Linked DNA regions of Homo sapiens: all the other regions are linked to region 1. The links are contacts of gene promoters, found by promoter capture Hi-C in blood cells and fetal thymus (Javierre and others, 2016). All regions are on one chromosome and are shown on one strand. Each heading gives the region's core, a stretch centred on a gene start or on the middle of the fragment in contact. The rest is flanking DNA. Distances are from core to core; before and after follow the strand shown. Region 1 holds the start of SLC35A1 (solute carrier family 35 member A1). Region 2 overlaps RNGTT (RNA guanylyltransferase and 5'-phosphatase). Region 3 overlaps RNGTT (RNA guanylyltransferase and 5'-phosphatase). Region 4 has its middle 2.0 kb from the start of RNGTT. Region 5 overlaps RNGTT (RNA guanylyltransferase and 5'-phosphatase). Region 6 overlaps RNGTT (RNA guanylyltransferase and 5'-phosphatase). Region 7 overlaps RNGTT (RNA guanylyltransferase and 5'-phosphatase).

Region 1 (2,967 bases), core at 74-2,573:
TGAGATTAATCAAATGTCTGCCTCTACAAAGTCAACTCTGGTCTCCTGGGAGCCCCTCCCAATATTAATATGATGCTAATAAGGCATGCAAAATGTTCCAACAATGTTAACAGACCAGATATATCTATATGTATATTTAACAAGACAATGGTATACAACCAACCCTCTAAAAGGACAATTTTGGGGAAAGAACATGCTGCAGAAGGTGTGGGCTGCTGGGCAGCTCAGAATCTTGCATCCCTATTCCTGTAAGTGCTGAGGTATTTTCATATTATTTTAAACCAATCCACATATCTTGAACATCATTTATTTCACCAATGAATTATTTCTAATATCAATTATGATAGCTAATTAACATCCCCTAGTGAAAGTGGAGATTATAGTGGTTAAAATGCCTGTTGATATATCTAATTTTTTTTGTTTTTTGAGACGAAGTCTCGCTGTGTCGCCCAGGCTGGAGTGCAGGGGCGCAATCTCGGCTCACTGCAATCTCCCGGGTTCAAGTGATTCTCCCGCTTCGGCCTCCTGAGTAGCTGGGATTACCGGTGCGCGCCACCACGCCCGGCTAATTTTTTGTATTTTTAGTAAAGACGGGGTTTCGCCATATTGGCCAGGCTGGTCTCGAACTCCTGACCTTAGGTGATCCATCTGCCTCGACTTCCCAAAGTGCTGGGATTACAGGCGTGAGCCACCACGCCCGGCCGATACATCTGATTTTTTAAAGGCCGTTTTGTTGTGCGAAGATCATTAGTTAGAATGCCTGGCTGGGTAAATACAACCGATGACTGCTGACGATATGGAACAGGCACAAGACTTCTGAACGATATGTAGAATAAATTATAACTTATCTAGAACACAAGGTAACAGTGGAAGATAATGAGCCAGGTGGAAGTTACAAATGTTGCCGCAAGTAGTTTCTGTTACTTTACGAGTTCTGGGAGCTTCTCTAACAGCTTTGACAGGAGTGAATCCCCAAGGCTAAACCCAAATCCTTATTTGCCGCCTACTCACGCCTTTGTGAGGACTACGATTCCCAGACGGCAACGCTCCCTTCACTCAACTTCCTTAGCTGGCGGGGAGACGCAGTTTACAGAACTACCTCCCCAACCGAATTTCACACACCTGTCACCTAGGACGCGGCCGGGAAGGCCTCCCTTCGATCCGCGTTCTCCCCATTTTGGGGTGTAGCTTGGATTCCTGAGCCCAGTTTTAGTGCGTGGCCGACCGGGAGGCCGGCGAGGCGCTCTAGGCCGAGCGGCTTCGTCTCTATGACCACAAGGGGCGGTCCCCGGTGTCCTGCGCGGGGGCGCGGAGGGGGCGGGCGTCAGTTCCGCGGGGGGCTGTCGGGGAACCATGGCTGCCCCGAGAGGTGAGAACTGGGTCTGCTGGGAGTGGGGAGTCCGCGGGGGGCGGCGGCGGGCGAGCATCTGCGCTGGTCAGCCCCTGTCGGGCAGCGGAGCACCCTGGTTGCCCAGTGCCTCTGGGGCCTGGCTGAGGCGTCAGGAGTTTGCGTGGAGCCGCTCCCGGCAGTCAGGGCAGCCTGCCTTCCGCTGCGGCTGCAGTCTCCGCGGCTGACTCCGCGCTGGGCAGGTCGGAGTCAGAGACCGCACTGACCTCCACTAGCTGGGAGTGGGTGGGAACCGAATTCTGACAGGCCGGGGCTGCGGCGGACCCGGAGAGAGGCCAGGGCGTGGGTCCGGGGCTGGACCGCATTACCCAGCGAGGCAGGACAGTTCTTCACCCTGGCCCCGCGGCTCCGGTCTCCTCTGCGCCTCCTACCCTGTGGATGCTCAGAGGCTTAAAGGCAGGCTCCGGGCGCAGATCCCATGCGGCGGCTGGGCCATGCAACAACCACTAAAGACATCACTGGGGCGTCAAAACAGCACTGAAATCGTAACGAAAGGAAGATAACAGTCGTTAACAGTTCCCACCTGTATGCTGTGTGTAATTATAGAGAATGCTGTATGCTGCTATTTGGGGTGGAAGCTGAGATCCACCTCCCTCCTCCTGAGGGATGGCACATTCGGGTGAAGGCGTATTTGTTGACTAATTGACATTTAAGGAGGGCGAGTCTAATTGACTCCGCACCACTTTTTGCTGAGCAGTGTGTGTAAGTTGGGACCAGAGGTGGATTCTTTGACTGTGGTGCATTAACCAGGAGAAGTTGGGCAACACCCGGATTCTTGCTCCACCCTTCCTCCATAGAGCACTTGGCTTCACCCTTGAATAAATATTGAACGAATACATAAGGAATATCTTCTTGCGTGGGTTTCAAGTTATTTTCCCTGTTGCGGGGTCCATGTTTCTCATCAGGCCCTGCCCAGGGGCATTGTCTTTAGTTGCATATGCTTCTCTTATGTCTTCTTTCTGTTTCATTTCAAATAAGTCCAATCTTAAAAGCCTTTTTTTGTAGCAACACAGGAAATAAAAGAAAAAGAAATAGAATTGTTTTGATAACTAAAATGGAATGGGGATAGCAAAATTGATCCGAACGAAAACTTATAAATTACAGAAGTCAAATCATTACTTGAAATAGCTGCAACAATGTAAAGGTTTAGGCTTATTGCCAATACATATTTGTTGAGCCTTGATTGTAATCCTAACAAAACTACAGTTTCCATAGTTTCCGAATATCCACAAAGGATTTATCTGGGACTTACAGAATTTCTAAGTTCTTAAGTATTACAAATAATGTCCCCATAAACTATAGTAAAACATAACCGAAAAAAAACATTTTAAACTGTAAGTTTCTTTTGGGGGACATTTCCACACAAACACTATATGGGAGCTAATAGAATTTCGTGAGAAGCAGGGAACAATGCAGGGTTAAGATGTGGCTGCCAGTTGAGTTGTGGGCTAGCTTTATAGTTACTGGCATTGGGTGTGATTTGAATTATTTGCCCAATTTGAAGTGATTACATATGGACTTTTGCTGTTACCCTGAAATAATTGAAATTGCTAATAACT
Region 2 (3,240 bases), core at 457-2,956, 1.3 Mb after region 1:
ATCTGAAATCTACTCTCTTGGCAAACTTCCAGTATATAAAACAATATTATTAAGTACAGTCATTGTGCTGTACATTAGACCTCCAGATTTATTCAGCCTACGTAACTGCAAATTTGTGCTCTTTAACCTACATCTCCCCAACTCCCCCATCCTCAGCACTGATAACCTTCTTCCTAGTCCTGAACAGTAGCTTCTAGTTTCAACAAAACAAATCCCTTTGAATACCCACAACTGAGAGGGGGGATAAAAAGCATGCTCTCCCTCTGACCTGAGCTTGCTAATTTTTTTATATTTCTAACCACAGAAGACGGTACAGTTAGAACTGACAGAGTAATTTATATCTGTTTCAATTATAATAAGGAGGTACAGAATTAGTTTATCACCTATAATCAAAAGTTGTTATTAATGAGTTACCAACTGGGTTTGTTTCTCCCCCATTTAAAAGAGCTTATTAACCAAGTAGCTTCATAATAGGTGTTTTTTGCATTCTGTTTCTGTGTACTCAACTTTTTGAGATTCCACATGTAAGTGAAATCACACACCATTTCTCTTTCTGTGTCTGGCTGATCTTGCTTAGTACAATGCCCTCCAGCTCCATCCATGTTGTTATAAATGACAGGATCTTTTTTTCTAAGCCTGAATAATATTCTGTTGCATAAATATACCATAATTTCTTAATTCATTGACCCACTGAAGGACATTTAGGTGGTTTCCATATGCAGGCTGTTGGAAATAATGCTGTAATGAACATGGGGGCATACATTTCTCTATGAGGTACTAATTTCATTTCTTTTGGTATATACTCAGAGGAACTGCTGAGTCATATATTAGTTTTGTTTTTAATCGTTTGAGGAGCCTCCATACTGTTTTCCATAATGGTTGTACCAATTTACATTCCTACCAACAGTGGGACACCCTTACTCTCCACACCTTCACCAACTATTTTGTATGTTATCTTGTATTTTCGATAATAGCCATCTTAATATGCATGAGGTAATATCTCAATGACGTTTTAATTTTCATTTCTCTGTGACTGGTGATGTTGAGCACCTTTTCATACACCTTTTGACCTTTTTTTTTTTTTTTGAGACGGAGTTTCCCTCTCGTTGCCCAGGCTGGAGTGCAGTGGCGCAATCTCAGCTCACCGCAACCTCCGCCTCCCAGGTTCAAGTGATTCTCCTGCCTCAGCCTCCCAAGTAGCTGAGATTACAGGCATGTGCCAGCAGGCCCAGCTAATTTTGCATTTTTTTTTCTTCTTTTTTTTAGTAGAGATGGGGTTTCTCCATGTTGTTCAGGCTGGTCTCAAACTCCTGACCTCAGGTGATCTACCCACCTTGGCCTCCCAAAGTGTTGAGATTACAGGCATGAGCCACCATGCCCAGCCACCTGTTGACCACTTTCATGGCTTCTTTGGAAAAAAAAAAAAAAAAGTCTATTCAAGTCCTTGGATTATTTGTTTTTGTTTTGTTTTTTGCTACTGAGTTGTGAATTCCTTTAATATTATAGATATCCCCTTATCAGATATGTGCTTTGCAAATATTTTCTCCCAATCTGCCTTTTCATTTTGTTGATTGTTTCCTGTTGTGCAGAAGCTTTTTAGTTTCATGTAGTCCCAGTTGTGTATTATTGCTGTTGTTGGCTGAGCTTTTGATGTAACATCAAAAAGATCATTGCCAAGACCAACATCAAGGAGCTTTTCCACTATGTTTTCTTCTAGGAGTTTTACAGTTTCAAGTGTTACAGTTAGGCATTTGATCTATTTTAAGTGGATTTTTGTGTATGGTATAAGGGTCCAATTTCATTCTTTTGTATATGGATATTCAAGCTTCCCCAACATCATTTACTGAAAAGATTATCTTCTCCCCATTGTGTATTCTTGGTGCCCATGTCAAAAATTTGAACATACATGCTTGGGTTTATTTCTGGGCCCTCTATTCTGGTCCACTGGTCTATGTGTATGTTTCTATTTCAGTACTACACCATTTTAATTACTGGAGCTTAGTAATATAACTTGAAACCAGGAAGTGTGATGCTTCCAACTTTGTTCTTCTTTCTCAAAATTGCTTTGGCTTTTTCAGGGTTTTTAGTCCCCTACAAATTTTAGAATTGTTTTTCTCTAGTTCTGTAAAAAATGTCATTGGTATTTGGATAGGGATTGCACCAAATCTGTGTATCACTTTGGGTAGTATGGACATCTTAACAATGTAAATCTTCCAATTCATTAACATGGAATATCTTTCTATTTATGTGTATCATCTTCAATTTCTTCCATCTTGGTTAAATTTATTCCTAGGTATTTTATTCTTTTTGATGCTATTGTAAATGAGATTGTTTTCTTCATTCTCTTTTCAGATAGGCTGTTATCGATTGGTGTAAAGAAATGTAACTGATTTCTGTATGTTAACTTTGCATCCCACAACTTTATTGAATTAACAGGTTTTTTTGATGTAACAGTCTTTTTCTACATATAGGATCATGTCATCTGCAAACAGAGATAATTCTACTACTTGTTTTCCATTTTAGATGCCTGTTGTTTCTTTTTCTTGTCTGATTGCTCTTACTAGTAGCTCCAGTATTATGTTGAATAGAAGCACCAAGATGGGGAATCCTTGCCTTGTACCGGATTTTACAGGAAAAGCTTTTAGTTCTTCCCCATTAATTGTGATGCTAGCTGTGGCCTTTTCATAAATGGCCTTTGTGTTGAGAAAATTTTCTTCTATACCTATTTTATTGGAAGTTTTTGTCCCAAAAGATGTTGAACTTTGCCAAATGCTTTGTATGAATCTGTGGAGATGATCATGTGGTTTTAGCTTTTATTCTGTTACTGTGGTATATCATATTGATTGATCTGCATATGTTTATACCAACCTTGTAACCCAGGGATAAATCTCACTTGGGGATTTTAAATGTATTCTGAGTACAAAGTAAAAAAAGAAAAGGTATTACCTGAGTGTCTTAAAATTGATTATAGAGGAATGAACATTGTAAGCCTTGAAGGATGGGTAATATTCACTCATGCAGATTTGCAGCATGAAGTAAATATGGGCAAAAAAACAGGAGTAGAGAAATATAGGATGTGCTAAAGGAGAGGCAAGTCTCCCAATTCAGTGTGTGCATTATGGAGGGTGGGGCCATATTATAAGAAAAATACTTAGGAAGGAAAAATTGCTAAGTGTCCAATACTAGTATTTTTAAATTATCCAAGTCAAATTGCATTCTAACAAATTTTTAATTTAATTT
Region 3 (3,259 bases), core at 245-2,744, 1.4 Mb after region 1:
ATCCAGACCTTAAAGAAGAACACAGTATTACTATCGTGGCTGGTATCCATACAAAGCAATACATGTCTTAAACCAATCTCAAATGAATCACACATTTATCACAATGTTCTCCCTATGATGAGATTAATGTCAGCTGGAATAACATCCGCTTTCACAAAAATACTAATAAAAGATTATCATTTTCTTGACATTTTAGAATGCAAGTTAACAGAGTTCTAAATTACCACTGCTATGGTATAATCACTGAGCTAATTTTAAAATATTAGTATATATGATCTAAATAGTAAAGCAGGTATGTTTACAAGTCTTGTACTTCAGGAAGAAGTTTAAATCTTGGCTTAATTACTTTACATGATATTCTAGACCCCATATTTCCCCAACGTGAGACTGCCAACTTGACATAACTGCAAGGTTGGCAACTTTCTCCTCAAAAGATACCCAGAAGTGACAAAACAGGAGAAATATGGGTCAAGATTAAGGCTTAACACAACATTAAAACCAAGGGTGTAGGTCAAGATTAAGGTTTAACACAACATTAAAACCGATCTTATTTCTTCATTGTTTTCATATTTTAGTTAAAACTACTTCTAGATGATTTATCTAGTATTTATGTAACAGTAATAAAAGTTCTTTTCATTAGGAATTTATATTAGGAATTAACAATAATCCTTTTTCCTTACATTCAACTGTATTACAGTTCTCTGCCACAGATACCAATGATCAGCAGAAATGACCACAGGCCAAGACCTGAGAGCAACAGATAAGAGCAATGTATGCTCTCCTGAATCCACTACGAAATGTCTGAAAGATATTTTCAAGTCATGGCATTCACTGCTTATATTTAAAGCTGATTTTCCTAGACTTCTGATTACAGAAAAACTGGAAAATGAGGCAGATCCAAATTTCACCTCTTCCCTCTTATCAAATTGAGAGACTAGCTCAAACATTAATCAGTAGCAGTAGAGTCAAAGACACGAAACAAATACTAGACAGTGAAAACAAGAATTTTCTATTACTTTAGGAAAATATGTGAGTCATCTAATTTTGACTCAACTGTCTGGTTATTGCATTGATTGTCTTGAACGAAATCTGACACCTTTAAAGTATTCTATTGCAAACATACTAACTTCAAGGAGCCAAGAAGATATGTCAATGCTTGTATTAAGTGTTGTAAAATAAGAGCAAATTTTATTTAAAAATTTAAAAATATTTATTACCCTTCCCAGCCACAGAATTGATGACACTTCTGCTGTACCTCTCCTAACTTTGGTTGTGTTGTTACTTGAGTTACACCTTTAACAGTAACACCTTCCAAGAAAATAGCGCCCTTTAAAAAAAAAATAAGAAAAATAAGGGAAAGAAAAATATTTTATTAGAGTTCAAATTCATTTACAAAGAAGAGACTGAGAGATAAATTAGTTTGTTCTCACAAATCTTAGCAAGTCAATATATCTAACAGAAACGGTCTGCTGTATAAACTCCCCTAAGATTGTACACTAGTTTTCCTAAATCCAGCACATGGTTTTCTTCAATATACGTATGTACTCTATAGGCACTTCTCAAATCATAACAGTAATAATAATTTATCTACCATTTATTGAGATCCAAGCAGAATGTCTGGCATCTTGCAAACATTCTCTCTAATCCTTACAACACTGAAAAAATAGACTGTACTGTATTTATTTCAAAGATGAGTAAATAAGGCACAAAGATTTTATGTAAATCAAGTGGTAAAAGACAGAATTTGAACAGGCCTACACTATACCAACCACCAATGGAGAGAAGGGGAAAGGAGCTGTGTTACTATGAATGAAGTATGGACTTTAAGGGGATAAACACCAAAACCTCTATCTTTGTAAACCAGAGTAAGAGTGTAGGCAAAGTGGCTAAGCCACAGTCATTGGATATATTAACATACTAATAGAACAAAATATTACTCATCATGGAATTTTTAATCTAAATTTTTTAACTCAGAACTACATATTTTGAAATATCACAGCGAAGTAAAGCAGACAGAGAATATCAAACAAATAAGGAACCCTTCTGGAAATTTTTAAACCTAAAAAAAATAGTCTAGATGTATGCTACAGTTCTTTTAAGGTCCATAAAGGGACTGGCATCAGTCTTAAGAAAAATCTATAAAACAATTCTAGCTGTTAATGTAATTAGGCAATAAAAAAGTTAGTCTACAAGCTACAACGTTCAACCTTCTGGCAAAGACCTGGCAATCTGAGCCACTTGAGAAAAGAAAAAAAGAACAATTAATACTTCATCCACATACATTCTTGTCAAATCTGGAAGAATCCTGAGTCCTTCCAGCAGACACTAGTCCTACTTTTTGTCCCTAATTTTGAAGCACTTTTTGTACTTATCTGTCTTCTACTTTGCTTTCCTTAAATAACCAAAATTTAGGAATTTCATAAGCCCAAGGATCAAAGAGTACCATCCCTCTACTATTATACCATTATTTCTCTGTACTAGCCAATGGCATTTCTGTTTAAAACCATTTTTATCATTAAGTACAACAGCTAAAGGAAAAAAAGAGTATTTTTAAAAGAAAGCTCAACCAGATAGATGAGGTTTGTAACATATTTACTTATTGAGTGCTCAGATAATTTCAATATCCTTAAAAAATTGTTTCTTATGCTAATTAAAAAAGAACACTTCTTTTTAGAGAGTTCAATATTAAGCATCCTAATTCTGATGGTATTAACAGCATGAGATGTTCTTTTTAAGTTTTACACAAAGAAAGTCTCTAGCTTCATTTATCAACGTGGATTTCCTATGCAAAGTTAAGAAATTTACATTAACTTCTGAAATGGGCAAAATAAAAGCAAAGGCCAAATTAACCTAAGTTACTACTAAAAACACAAACACTATTTATATTTTTAACATATAATAAAAAGGACTAACACATAGAAAATATGATCACATTCAACCAAGCACTTTCCCACAATATTACCACAGAAATATTTTAATAACATTTCTATGGGGTTGAAAAAGCTGAATATTTTTAATTTAACAGAGCCAATAAATACTGAGCATCAGTACAGATCTAACAACTACTGAGTCTGGTTATAAAAGTTAACCCCAATCACCTAGTAAATGTCTGTCATCCATTTATTGTTCTTCTTCCTTAATCTTTCCTACCATGCATCAACTTCTTTTTTAACTTCCTCTATTTTCTTCCACAACAAATAAGTAAAAAGAAAGGTAGAAGTCCAATAAAAAAAAGTATGATACACTTCATACACAAATC
Region 4 (3,049 bases), core at 397-2,896, 1.5 Mb after region 1:
ATTCTAAGGACATGAGATTGGAGTACCAGAAATGGGGAATTTTTCTTTTGGTGAGTACTTACGAGGATCTATGAAGCTTCTGAAATTAATTCCAGAACACTTAGAGTTTTGTTTGTACATTTCTGGATCAAAGTTTCAAAGCATACTGGGGAGTTTGAGAGGGTCCATGTCTCCAAAAAAAGTTACTAATTAATGTGGTATAATTGACAAAGGTAGGAATTGATCAGTGGAGAACCTCTTCGTGGCGTTGTTCTCCTTGGCCTACCAAATAAACAGTGCCTTTTATTTTCCCTTCGAGTTAAGCAGAGGTGCTTGAAAAATTTTTATAAATGCCGTCCTTTAACGAGCCTTTCCTTTGTTACCAGATTAAAGTGTTAAATATAAAGCTGGATGATGGCGAATCAATTATAATGTAGTTTGGCTTTAAACACCAATGCTATATTGGAACTGCAAGAACGTAAGGCTGCAGGGAATACATTTTTAAAGCGTCGGTGGGGAACTTTCTGGGACGCTCAACCCCCTGAATGCCTGGACCCCCTCAGTAAGAGTCCCATCAATAGAGGCAGTCCAACAGCAATCTCTCTGAGGCAGCCTGAGTTAGGTCACACTTCTGGTCTGTCCTGCTGTTGCATCTGCTCAGAACTGTTAGTGAAGGTGTAAACTCCTCCCCTGACAGAACAAGATAATACCCAGTTTCCTTTAAGGCCATCAGTCTACCCAAATAATCTCCGATGAATTCCCTTTTCTGCTGATAGAGTGTGTACCATGCCCAAAGTGGTAAAAACCTTCCATCCCCAGACCCCCTCCAAGGATGGGAAAGGTGAGCCTGATCCTGGAAGAGTATCTTACCTTCCCCTTCTGGGGATGACTCCCCTTGGTGACTCCCCTTCCCACACACGCTATACCCAGTAGCTCAGTCCTAGGCACACAGAAGCTTCATACCACTGGCGAGCAACTGTTATTGGCTGTAAGGCAGCAATGTGCACTGGATTTTTATTCTGCTATCCAGTTATGCCCTCTCCATACTCATTGCCACAGAATTGGGAGGACCCTGTGGCTACCTTTTGTCCACAATAGAGAGTAGAGTAGGAGAGTGGCATCCCGATGAGCAGGCAGTTTCTCTCTGCCTGTCAGGAATGCCTTGCCTGATGTGTGTTTCTGCCTATATTGCTCCTAGTCCCAAGTTTCTACTACTCTGTGAGAAGAAAAATAGATGCTCACAGACAGACCAACATGATTCCTCCCCCGCTTCCTGGAACCCCTGACACCCTCCCAGATATGTCTTGATCTCCTCTTTATCAGATGTAGATTCTCTTCATTGGTGAGTCTTTCATCAAACATCCATTTTGCCCATAAGGAAGAGTGTGTACATGTAAAAAATAAGATTGAACGTTCTCTTTTGGCAAAAGAGAGAGATCTTATCTGTCTTCCCTTTTCCTAGGACTTTTCCTTGAGAAAAACCTATATTTATTAATCCTTCCTCTTCACTTTGATATGTAGATAAATCTTTTGTTTTTGCAGACAGGGTCTCACTTTCTCACCCAGGCTAGAGTGCAGTGGGCATGATCAGGGCAGCCTTACTGGAGCCTCAACCTCCCAAGCTCAAGCAATCCTCTCACCTCAGCCCCCAAGGAGCTGGGACTACAGGTGCAGGCCCCCACACCCCACTAACTTTTTTATACTTTTTTCGTCTGGAACTCCTGCAAGCAGCCCTCCCACCTCAGCCTCCCAAAGTGCTGGTAAGACAGCCAGGTGGGAAGGATTCCTTGGCAGAATCTCCTTTTGACCTGAGCACTGGGAGGAATGCACCCTGTGGTGGAGCCTTGGGAAATTTGCGCCATTTGCAGTGGGGAGGAGCCTGGCCCCTCCTTTTCCTAGGTGGAACCTGGGATTCAGTCTACCAGGCAGGAAGCACTCTGGCTTTGGGGAGAGTCTCTGTTTCCCTTTTTTTCTTTTTGCCCAATAAATTCCATTCTCACCCTTCAAGGCATCTGTGAGCCTAATATTTCATGGCCATGTGACCAGGACCCAGCTCTTAGCTGAACTAAGGAGAAAGTCGTACAACAGCTTTGGCACCCAATGTGGGGCTTGAGAAGCGGTTGAGTGACACGGGGACTCAAAACTTTTCACTGTCATTTCTAAGCCTTTTCATGCGTGGACTTCTGAGGGTAGGGAAACCATGCCCCCACTCCCATCGCTCCCTGGGGTCAGGGGCCTTTCCATGGCCTTTGCCTTCGTTTTTTGGGAAGGATAGGCAAGTCGCAGCTCCTCATTCCCTCTCCCCTCCCAGCTGGGGCTGGGGAATGCCACATGTCCACAGCATCTTCCCCTTCCCTGGCCAAGGCTCAACTCCATCTGATAAGCTTCTCTCCCTGGTAGAGGAACCATTTGCCTAAGAATAAAAGGTTTATTCCCCCAGGCATCCTTTTTTCTTCACCCCATCAACAGTTAACTTTTAAACCAGATGTTTTTTTTCTTTTTCACTAGGCTAGGAATGATAAGGATCCCTGTTTATATTCTCCTTAAAGTTTGGTTGTGAAAAAGGATCTTATGGGGACTGGTTTTCTTCTGCCTGTCTGTGTAGCTATATATATGTTGTGTACATGATGTCTATGAAAAGAGCTCAAAGGCCAGGCACGGTGGCTCACACCTGTAATCCCAGCACATTGGGAGGCTGAGTCAGGCAGATCACCTGAGGTCGAGAGTTCAAGACCAGCCTGACCAACTTGGAGAAACCCCATCTCTACTAAAAATACAGAATTAGCCAGGCATGGTGGCACATGCCTGTAATCCCAGCTACTTGGGAGGCTGAGGCAGGAGAATCACTTAAACCTGGGAGGTGGAGATTGCACTCCAGCGTGGGCAGCAGGAGCAAAACTCCATCTCAAAAAAAAAAAAAAAAAAGGAGCTCTAAGGCCAGGTGTGGTGGCTCATGCCTGTAATCCCAGCACTTTGGGAGGCCAAGGCAGGCAGATCATTTGAGAGTCAAGAGATTGAGACCAGCTTGGCCAACATGGTGAAACCCTGTCTCTACTAAAAATACAAAAAT
Region 5 (3,327 bases), core at 47-2,546, 1.4 Mb after region 1:
AATATTTCAACTTTCGATGTTTCTCACCTAAGCTACTGTTTTTGTATCCAATTTTTACTCTTGCAAGATTAAATATTTTTATGAATAGGAAATGTAATAATAATTGCCAATTAGCTAATATGTCATGTGAAGATATGTAATCTAGGAAAGTACCATTTTCCTTTTAATATTCTTTATATGCAAATACAAAAAGTCTTAGTCTAATGGTTCAGTTATACATCAAAACATTTATAGATAGGGTTATAAAGTTACAAAACCATCAAAACAAACCACTATAGAAAAATGTGGGAGATTATGTATTTGATATTAAAAAATCCATTAATTAGGTATACTACAAGCTTAGATACGTCTTCAGTTTTTGTTTAAAGCAATTTTCAGTTTTCTTCATCATGAGAATGGGTCCATCTAGTGGTAAGTAAGCCACAGTTTTTAACTAAATATTAGCTCACAATTAACTATTTCAAGGCAACTTCTATTCAAATTTTTCCAGGCAAGCTAATATAATGAAATAAATGTATATGGCATTTACAATCAAACTAGGGAAAGAAACTCCCCAACAAATAGACAGAGAGATTAGCTATAGCTATACATGTTGGGGCAGTTTATAAAGGGGCTGGTGACAATGTATCTTTTTAAATAAAGCCTGATCTCAACATACACTATTTTGGAGGGTGTGGGGGGTATAGACAGGGTCTCTCTATGTTGCCAAGGCTGGTCTTGAACTCCTGGGCTCAAGAGATCCTTGGCCTTGGTCTTCTGGGATTGTAGGCATGAGCCACCACACCTGGCCCACAATTTTATTTCTATCTCACTAGCTAGATAAATTTTTTAATGCTAAAAATCCTAATTATTTGATCAGTCTAATTAGGTCAGTAGTTCTTTTTTTTTTTTTTTTTTTTTTTTTTGAGACGGAGTTTTGTTCTTTTTGCCCAGGCTGGAGTGCAATGGAGCAATCTCGGCTCACTACAACCTCTACCTCAGCCTCCTGAGTACCTGGGATTACAGGCATGCGCCACCACGCCTGGCTAATTTTGTATTTTTAGTAGAGACAGGGTTTCACCATGGTGGTCAGGCTGGTCTCAAACTCTGACCTCAGGTGATCCACCCGCCTCGGCCTCCCAAAGTGTTGGGATTACAGGCGTGAGCCACTGCACCGAGGATTCAGTAGTTCTCAACTGGGGAAGATTTTGCCCCCCAGGGGACATTTTGTAATGTCTAGAGACAATTTTAATTGTTACAATTTGTGGGATGAAGTTGAAGTCCAGCCTGAACAACATAGCCAGACCTGGTCTCTAAAAAATTATTTAATATAATACAATAAAGGCAAAAAAAATTAATGCAGTTGTTCCTCAGACTCCTCAGGGGATTGGTTCTGGGATCCCCCTCAGATACCAAAATCCTCCGATGCTCAGTGCTCAAGTGCCTTGTATAAAATGGCATAGTATTTGCATATGACCTATGAACATCCTGCCGTTTTCTTTGAATCACCTCTAGGTATTACTTATAATACCTAATGCAATGTAAGTGCTATGTGAACAGTTACTATACTGTATTTGTTGTTTTGAAAAAAGCAGGTTATTTATATGGTACAGTATGCAGCTATTATTTAACAGAACAATATTATGAGATATACATGAAATATGTTAAGGATGTGTGTATATATATTCATACATTTATATGAATATATATAACAGTCACACATACATACACATATATTGAGGTATATGACTAGAACCTACACAGCTTAAGGTAATACTGAGGCCTTTATCTGAATAAGTAAAAACAACTCACAGAAGTGTTTTCTCATTTGAGAGAAGCCATTATAGGGGTAAACATTAAATATGCTTAATGAATTCAAAGGAGGGCAGTCAAGCAATTTTAACCTCTGGCATTAGATGTCATGATTTTAGAAAGATTCATACTCCAGGTTTAGGAAAACAAATTCATCCTTGTTATAAATTGTGCAGTTGTATTCTTAGAAGAACTGATAAGAAAAACTTCTAATTGTTTTGAGTGTTTACAGGTTATAAAATTTATAGAACCTAGTGATATATATATATTTTGTTTTATATTCCCGGCAGTGATTCTGTTCATGTGGATTGAATTGGAAACATTTGCTTTGGGCCTGCCAAATTTTGGAGCACAGGATGTATTGCCAGTTATTTCTTATAGTATTACTGTAGAGACAATAACAGAAACTAGTCTCAGAACTGATTGCTGATAACACCTTTCTAAATAAAAAGCACTAAAGAATCAAGCTTAAGTAGTCTTAGGATCTGAAAATACTGTCCTGCTTTTATAGTACTTTCATTTATTTTTAGTTTCAGAGAAGGAATTTTTATCAGCCTTGCACAAACTCTTGCTGATCAATATTTGTGACCAGTAGTAAACATTTGTGATGTGGCAAAGGTTAGACTCAGGTTTCTTTTCAAAGCTGTCTTGGTTTTAAAAAAAAATCCCAGCCTGGGTGACATAGTGAGACCTGGTCTTTAAAAAAAAAAAAAGTAATCTTTGAATTAGCTGATATAATTGTTAATTTATCAATTACAGTTGACAACTGATTCAGTTATCAGTTGATAATTGGTGAGGCTGTGGGCTAATGCTGTAGGCTTCATGGAAATATAAAGTTCTTGAAACACACAGAAGCTTGAAACCTTTTCTAATCCTTAGCAGTAACTACAGCTTCATAGTCCCTTATCTGAAACCCTTAGAACCAGATGTTTTCAATTTTTACCATACTGTTAGCTTCTCTGGGGCAGTACTCTCAAATTTTTTTTTTATTATGGAAATTTGCAGACATACCCAAAGCAGTGAGAATAGAAAAATGAAACCTCATGTATCCATCATCCCTCTTTGGTAATTATCATTTTGCTGATTTTTTTTCATCCTCCACCCTTAATAATATTTTTGGAGTAAATTGGCCTTCCTATATCTGTATTAAAAATATTTGGGAAAAAACTCAATAAAAAATACAGTAAAAAATAATACAAATTTAAAAATACAATATAGTAACTGTTCACATAGAACTTACATTGTATTAGGTATTATAAGTAATACCTAGAGGTGATTCAAAGAAAACGGCAGGATGTTCATAGGTCATATGCAAATACTATGCCATTTTATACAAGGCACTTGAGCACTGAGCATCAGAGGATTTTGGTATCTGAGGGGGATCCTAGAACCAATCCCCTGAGGAGTCTGAGGAACAACCACATTAATTTTTTTTTTGCCTTTATTATTATTATATTAAATAATTTTTTAGAGACCAGGTCTGGCTATGTTGTCCAGGCTGGACTTCAACTCCCAGGCTCAAGCAGTCTTTCCACC
Region 6 (2,948 bases), core at 354-2,853, 1.4 Mb after region 1:
TCCAGCAGGTGTCTGGGGAGCAGATGGAGAGCTCAGGCCCTTGCTATAATAGCTGCAGCCCTAGTAGATGGGGAGTGTGGGGACTCAGGTTTCACTAGGAAAAATAAATTCAGCCTCAGTCTGGACTGACTGTGTATCTGAAAGACTCCTAGACCAAATGCCAGGCCAGCTGGCACACAGACAACAGGAATACTTAGTTCGCAAGACCCTCTGGCACATGCTTTTCAAAAGCAGCAATTCCTGGTGGATAGAGAGAATCTAAGCTACTTGGAAGAAGTAAGCTTTGCCTTGGATTATGTTTCAAAAGGAATTTAAATCAACAAAAGGGAAGATCAAATAAAAAGCAATGATGACATCATCTGCAAAAATGGCATGGAAGACACACAACCCATCATGTTGTTAAGGACTTAGGCTGGCATTTTGCAAAGCTGATATTCACCAAAAGGGTATTTCAAGGCAAATAAGTTAGGAAACCACTGTATCTTTCTCTTAGAACGTCAAGATATATATTAGGATATTTAAAGTTATGATAAAATATATAAATAAATCTGTTCATCTTATTTAGTCCATTGTTTCCTAAACTTAATCCTGATATCTGTTAAAATTTGACAGAATTGGTATTCTATACTTACAATTTGAGAAAAGCTGACTTAAGCTAATAAATGTTAGAATTCAGAAAAAAGAAATGGTTTACTCTTATGATCATGTAATAATGATAACTGAAATTATATTTCCCCTTTCACTGACTGCCCAGAAGTTGAGAATTTTAAATTTAATGTTTAAACACAATAGGTATTATCCCAGGGTGAAGATGTATTTATTTTACACACACACACACACACACATCTTAGTATCAGACCTTTTCTTTTAAATCAAGTAGAGTATCAATCAAAAGAAAATATTTTCTATGCACACATGTGTATAAACAGATTTAAAAGACTAAGGAAGAAAAAGCTTTAGAGGACGGGATTTACAAAAGGATAGCTTCTGCATCTGCAGAAACACCAGAGAAATTATTTAGCACTTGGTATTTAGGGATTCTTCTGCACACATAAATTTTCAGGCTTTGGAACACAAGTTCCTGAGCTATGATTTTTAGTTTGAACTCCAGTCATTCCAAATCATATGTTCTTTTGTTATGCGATACTAACAAAAAGTAAGGAGCTATTTCATGTAAGGAATGTGGAAATATTTCCACATCACTCCAAAGTCCCTGAAAGCAGCCAGATTCTTTAAAAAGAAGCAACTACCTCACAAACTGTCAGATACTGCCTTAGTATATAACTATGATGCAATATAATTTCTTATTAATTAGGAAATTATCTCAACTGCAAATTTAATATTCAGAATTATCAATAGGTATTTGTATTATATTCATTCATTCCCATTAAAAGGCAAAATTTAATTCAGTATACGTTTCCCAGATAGAAAATGCTAAAGTATATAAACCAAAGGTATATGGATTACAGAAAAGCCAGATGTATAGACTACTTTACTGTAAATGCAGGTTTTCTACCAAAACTGGAAATAATCTTTCAGAGCAGTTGCTGAGATGTGAGATATATAATTAAGTAAAACAACCAAATATACATTAATAAAATTAGGAAGTACATAATTAAAGAGAAGGAAAACTGACAGAAAACAATGGTAACTAATACCACCTTAGAGTCCTAATTCACATTCCTCCCAGTAGTCTGAGAGTAAAATGGTCGTTAAACTCCTGGTAATTTAAAGTTATCACCAATTTAGACCCAACTCTGATCATCAATTCAGGAATTTATCTTATACTCTATGAAGGCAGAAATCCTATCTATTTTGTTCCTTCTCACAGCTTAAGTATCTTGCACAGTCTACCTGAATACACACTAAAGGAAGGCACTCAATATTTGTTAAGCAAAGCTGTATGTACAACAAAGTTCATCATAATATTTTATAACAGTGAAAGGATAAAAACTCAAATGTCCATCATTCAGCAAATAGGTAAAATAAATATTGCATATTCATGTAAAAGCATACTAGTCAAGCATTTTTTAAACAATGATAAAAATATTCATTAATATGGAAAGAGATTTACAATATATTTAGTGGGAAAAAAGCAAGTTTAAAACCAGAATACATTAAATAATTACAGAGGAAAGGAGGAGGACAAAACTGTATGTATATCGTAAATATAGAGTAAAGCCTATACCAAAATAGTAAGAGCTGCCCCATCTCTATGTATTAGAATTATCAATGATATTTGCTTTCCTCATTAAGCTTTTCTGTACTTTCAAAATTTTTAGAAATAAACACAAATTGCTTTTAGACACAGGGGGCAAAATTAAAGCTTTACAAGGGGGAAAAAAGCCACCAAGCCAGAAATGTAGTCTATAATCAGACCCAGAGAAACATTTTCCCTTTGCAAAGTGGCAATGAATTAAGACAGGATTCTAACCCTTGTTCTTTGTACCACAGTGGCTTCAAAACAACAGATATTCCTCTTCTTCTGTCATACAGCCTCCATACTAGAGCATTTTGATGGGCAATAAAAACAGAAAAGCTGATCATTTACATTGATTTATTTCACCACCATCTCTATCTCTATCCATTTTTCCTAGCCCCTATCAAACTTATTATGGCTTTTCTCTTAAATTTTTTAATCAATTATTTTTTAAAATATAAGTTAAAGGGCCGACCTGGAGCCAGTCTAGATGCTAGGCAGTACTAGATGCTAGGGTTATAACAGCAAATGGCACAGACTCTCTTCTCAACTTCACATCATTTACACTCTTAAAAAGAAAACAAGATATTAAATAATTCCAACCATAATACATATTAGAACAGTGAAGAAGAAGCTATTACAGGAGCCTACAAAGGTAGAGCCTGTCAGAGTTTGGAGATCATGGAAGGCATTCCAGAGGAATTCATGCATAGCTGATAATAACAACAGGTTACACTTACTGAGCAAT
Region 7 (3,389 bases), core at 191-2,690, 1.4 Mb after region 1:
CAGGGTGGGAGGGTGAACAGAAAAAAAAAAGAAAGAAAGTAAAAGAAACTGAACCAAATGGGTAGTGAGGGAAGAGCACCTAAGCACAACTGCTTATCATAAAGCAAAGGTCAGAAATTGACAAACCCAGCCCACATTCATGGAGCTTCCAAGCAGCTTCTCTGCCTCGTTTCAAATGCACAGCCAACCAAGGATCACCACACATTTGAAGAAACTAGAAACATAAAGAAGAAAGATGATTCAAGGAAGAGAAAGATAACTTTAAATATGCTTTTAACTAGTATTCTCATAGAGATTCAAGAAGCTATCACAACCATAAACCAAGAACAATTTGTCATGAAAAGGTACAGGCAGAGAACAAGAATGTATGTACTATTGACAAAAGCATAATTACCAGAATAAGTAATTCAACAAAAAGAAAGGAAGAAAATAAGAGAACCTGGTACTTGGCACATAACAGACACTTAAAAAATTGTGGAATGAATATGTTTTTCATTTAGTCAATGAAACAAAAAATATATATAGACAGAGGGAAAAGTCTAAAAGCATACACACCAAAATGTAAGCAGCAACCATCTCTAACTGGTGAAATTACATATGTTTTTCGTGTTTGTCCTGTTCCTTATCTTCATTTTCTAACTTTTCTACAATGAATACAAATGACTTTTATAATGGGGAAACACATTTTTAAGACATTATCATTTTTTCATTATAAGACCAGAATCACAAGGCAAAAAAGAAATTTTTACTAAAATGCTTATCAAGTCCAAGTTAGAAAAAGTTTCAACTACTACCATTAATAATAAGATAGGTTTAGTAAGATATAGACATACTCATTGATCTTGACCTAATTAAGAGAATTTGAAAAGCTTGCAAAATAACAGGACACTGCAAACTTATTATTCGTAGCACAGATCAGGTAATTGGTTCCAATACTAGTAAATAAATCTCATGAATCAACCAGTTCTGTATATAAGAAGCCTCTCTTGGTTATTTTAATTAGTTACTTTCAGATTAAGTAGCTCTCATAATGAGAATGTACAGTGTCTTCATTAGACTTCAAAGTGTAAAATCAAATGATATACTCATTTGCATTAATTACCATTTATGTAACAGGTTATGCTTTTCAGAACTCTGTAGCAATACAAGTTAAATATGTAAAATACAGCATTCTTTTAAGTGATCTTCCATCAGGGTATGCCACATTTATTGCTCTAAAGATTTACCTTGATATGGAATAAAATTTAAAAGCCACTTAACGTATTCTGGGCAGCACTACCTATCACAGAGGCATGTAAACAACATTTTAATTTTTATAAAGTAATCCATCTTCATGAAAAGAAAAGATCAAAAGAATTTTCCCAAAAGTTTTATTTTACATTTGTCCCTGACTCGCTGATTACTTTCAGTTTTCTTTTGTATAAAGCATGCATTCTAGAAAAATCAACTATAATTATTTCAAACAATTTTTCACAGATTCACAAAGAGGATAAAGTTTTTTCCCCTTTTTTATCCAAGCCAGCATTTGCCACTTCCATAATCACACATAATGAATAAGAGTATGTGAGCAAATAATGAGTTAAGAAAGTATCACAGAATCGTAAAAAAAAAAAATATGAAAATCCAGTTAACACCTCATCTAACAGATAAGCTCTACTGCTGAGATGGGTCAAAGCAAATGTTCTTCCATCTGGTCAGCAGCACTACTCAATACTAAATATCAATATTCAATACTAAATATATCTTACTTATTTCCTATATAAAATTTAAAAATCCATCTATGAACACCCAATATCACACTCTTAAAATCAAAACAAGCAGTCATATTTCATATACAGTATCAAGTAATGCTCTTTATTAGCTCTTTAGTATCTCTTACTTAGTTGTCTGGTACTATACATAGTTTTGTTATATCTCTTACTACATCTTAAATTGTACTTCATTTTCCTGCTGAGAGTAGGAATTGTACTTTTACTTTCCTCTAGTGTCTTGTATTGTCTTTGAGACCTTCTAAAGCTTACAGTAGCTTAACAGTTATCTATTAAAGCAGTAAATATTGTCTGCAAATATATTTATTATCCCATTAAGTGAAAGGAGCAATGCAATTTGAATTACCATCACAAAGCAATTTGAAAAAAAAATAATAGAGTTTTTCTATTATTTATTTATAAGAGAACAGCCTATATCATATCCCATTATATGGAGGATCAGAAAGTAAGGAAAGAAAACAGCAGGTAAGAAGATGAAGGTATAATGTCTCGAGAAACCAAACATCCAACTCTTAATATTGATTATCCCAAGGGGTGGGATAAAAGTTCTCACAGGGAGAACTTTTTAATTTCTTTTTAATGTTTTATGAGGAAGACAGAAGACATTATCAGAAAAAATATATTTTAAGACAGAAAAATTCATCTATTAGCATAAAACAGTAAAAATAACTATCAAAATATTGAAAAAATAATGAGGACATGACCTGGCAAAAAGGATTCTGGGCTCTGGGGCCAGATCACTTGCATTCAAATCTCAGTCCTGCTACTTACAATAACTGTGTCTGTGACCTTGAAAAAGCTACTTATTCACAATGCTATCTTACAGCGTTGTGAGTATTAAATGAGATAAATGTTCTATGTAAAGTACTCAGAACAATGCCTAATACACATTAAGTGTTCAACAAGTATTACTTGTTATAACTGTTGCTATAGCCAAAATACAGAATGAACTTGTGCAACCACACTAGTATTCAAAAAAAACTGCTAATCAAAGCAATTTTAAAATTCATTTTCCTTTAATTTTTACATCAATAAAATCTTTTAAGAAAAAAATTCATTTTCCAATTGTCAACTTGGCTACATTACTTATATTAAGTGAAACTACCCCAAATTGCCAAGGATGTACACTCAAGCACTGCTGTTCGGAGTGTATCACTACAACCTCTAGCAAGGTATATCAAGGACTTCAAAGGTTTCCATACTATATCTAAGTAATACTATTTTTGTCAAAATTTATGCAAAGATGGGTATAAGAAGATCAGTACAGTTATTTATAGCAACAAAAAAACTGGAGTCTAAATGCCCCTATAATCGAGGGTGAACTATTTTTTCTTGGCAGCAATTAAGTCATTTTAAAAATACATGTTATAACAATGAAATATACTCATGTTAAGATAAAAAGCAGCATACAAAAATAATCATGCCTGAGTATTGTGGCTCAGGCCTGTAATCCCAACACTTTGGGAGGCCAAGGCAGGCAGATCACTTTAGCCCAGGAGTTTGAGACCAGCCTGGACAACACGGGGAAACCCTATCTCAACAACAAAAAAAAGACAAAAATTAGTTGGGTGTGGCGGCACGCGCCTATAGTCCCAGCTACTCTGGAGGCTGAGGTGGGAG

Evidence for each region. The method cuts DNA at HindIII sites, captures the fragments that hold promoters and counts their contacts. A CHiCAGO score of 5 or more calls a contact.
Region 2: a contact is called between a fragment that was not itself captured here and the fragment with the promoter of SLC35A1 in region 1, in 1 of 17 cell types (fetal thymus). The highest score is 5.0, in fetal thymus.
Region 3: a contact is called between a fragment that was not itself captured here and the fragment with the promoter of SLC35A1 in region 1, in 2 of 17 cell types (total CD4 T cells and non-activated CD4 T cells). The highest score is 5.4, in total CD4 T cells.
Region 4: a fragment that was not itself captured here is called in contact with the fragment with the promoter of SLC35A1 in region 1 in 1 of 17 cell types (non-activated CD4 T cells); the score reaches 6.5 in non-activated CD4 T cells.
Region 5: a fragment that was not itself captured here is called in contact with the fragment with the promoter of SLC35A1 in region 1 in 3 of 17 cell types (naive B cells, naive CD8 T cells and total B cells); the score reaches 6.6 in naive B cells.
Region 6: a contact is called between a fragment that was not itself captured here and the fragment with the promoter of SLC35A1 in region 1, in 6 of 17 cell types (total B cells, activated CD4 T cells, erythroblasts and 3 more). The highest score is 8.9, in total B cells.
Region 7: a fragment that was not itself captured here is called in contact with the fragment with the promoter of SLC35A1 in region 1 in 6 of 17 cell types (total CD8 T cells, monocytes, erythroblasts and 3 more); the score reaches 9.9 in total CD8 T cells.

What each region holds. Positions count from the first base shown.
Region 1 is chr6:87,471,651-87,474,617 of GRCh38, forward strand. SLC35A1 (solute carrier family 35 member A1) reads left to right here and starts at 1,324. Exons shown (of 8, transcript NM_006416.5): 1 at 1,324-1,369. The coding sequence starts at 1,354. LOC124901357 (a long non-coding RNA gene) reads right to left here and starts at 1,295. Exons shown (of 2, transcript XR_007059668.1): 1 at 1,123-1,295; 2 at 1-848. RefSeq lists enhancers at 971-1,877, 1,873-2,042, 2,093-2,192 and a silencer at 1,283-1,422. The HindIII fragment of the contact is 12,962 bases long and covers 1-2,967 here.
Region 2 is chr6:88,775,251-88,778,490 of GRCh38, forward strand. All of the region lies in intron 12 of RNGTT (RNA guanylyltransferase and 5'-phosphatase), which reads right to left. Among named protein-coding and RNA genes, the nearest start is that of RNGTT, 190 kb to the right of the region's middle. The HindIII fragment of the contact is 233 bases long and covers 1,591-1,823 here.
Region 3 is chr6:88,890,589-88,893,847 of GRCh38, forward strand. RNGTT (RNA guanylyltransferase and 5'-phosphatase) reads right to left here. Exons shown (of 16, transcript NM_003800.5): 7 at 1,218-1,327; 8 at 1-8. Among named protein-coding and RNA genes, the nearest start is that of RNGTT, 71 kb to the right of the region's middle. The HindIII fragment of the contact is 4,119 bases long and covers 1-3,259 here.
Region 4 is chr6:88,964,081-88,967,129 of GRCh38, forward strand. No RefSeq gene overlaps it. Among named protein-coding and RNA genes, the nearest start is that of RNGTT, 2.0 kb to the left of the region's middle. The HindIII fragment of the contact is 1,429 bases long and covers 933-2,361 here.
Region 5 is chr6:88,918,829-88,922,155 of GRCh38, forward strand. The region is part of intron 4 of RNGTT (RNA guanylyltransferase and 5'-phosphatase); the gene reads right to left. Among named protein-coding and RNA genes, the nearest start is that of RNGTT, 43 kb to the right of the region's middle. The HindIII fragment of the contact is 1,920 bases long and covers 337-2,256 here.
Region 6 is chr6:88,855,594-88,858,541 of GRCh38, forward strand. The region is part of intron 8 of RNGTT (RNA guanylyltransferase and 5'-phosphatase); the gene reads right to left. Among named protein-coding and RNA genes, the nearest start is that of RNGTT, 110 kb to the right of the region's middle. The HindIII fragment of the contact is 1,302 bases long and covers 953-2,254 here.
Region 7 is chr6:88,873,056-88,876,444 of GRCh38, forward strand. All of the region lies in intron 8 of RNGTT (RNA guanylyltransferase and 5'-phosphatase), which reads right to left. Among named protein-coding and RNA genes, the nearest start is that of RNGTT, 89 kb to the right of the region's middle. The HindIII fragment of the contact is 1,147 bases long and covers 868-2,014 here.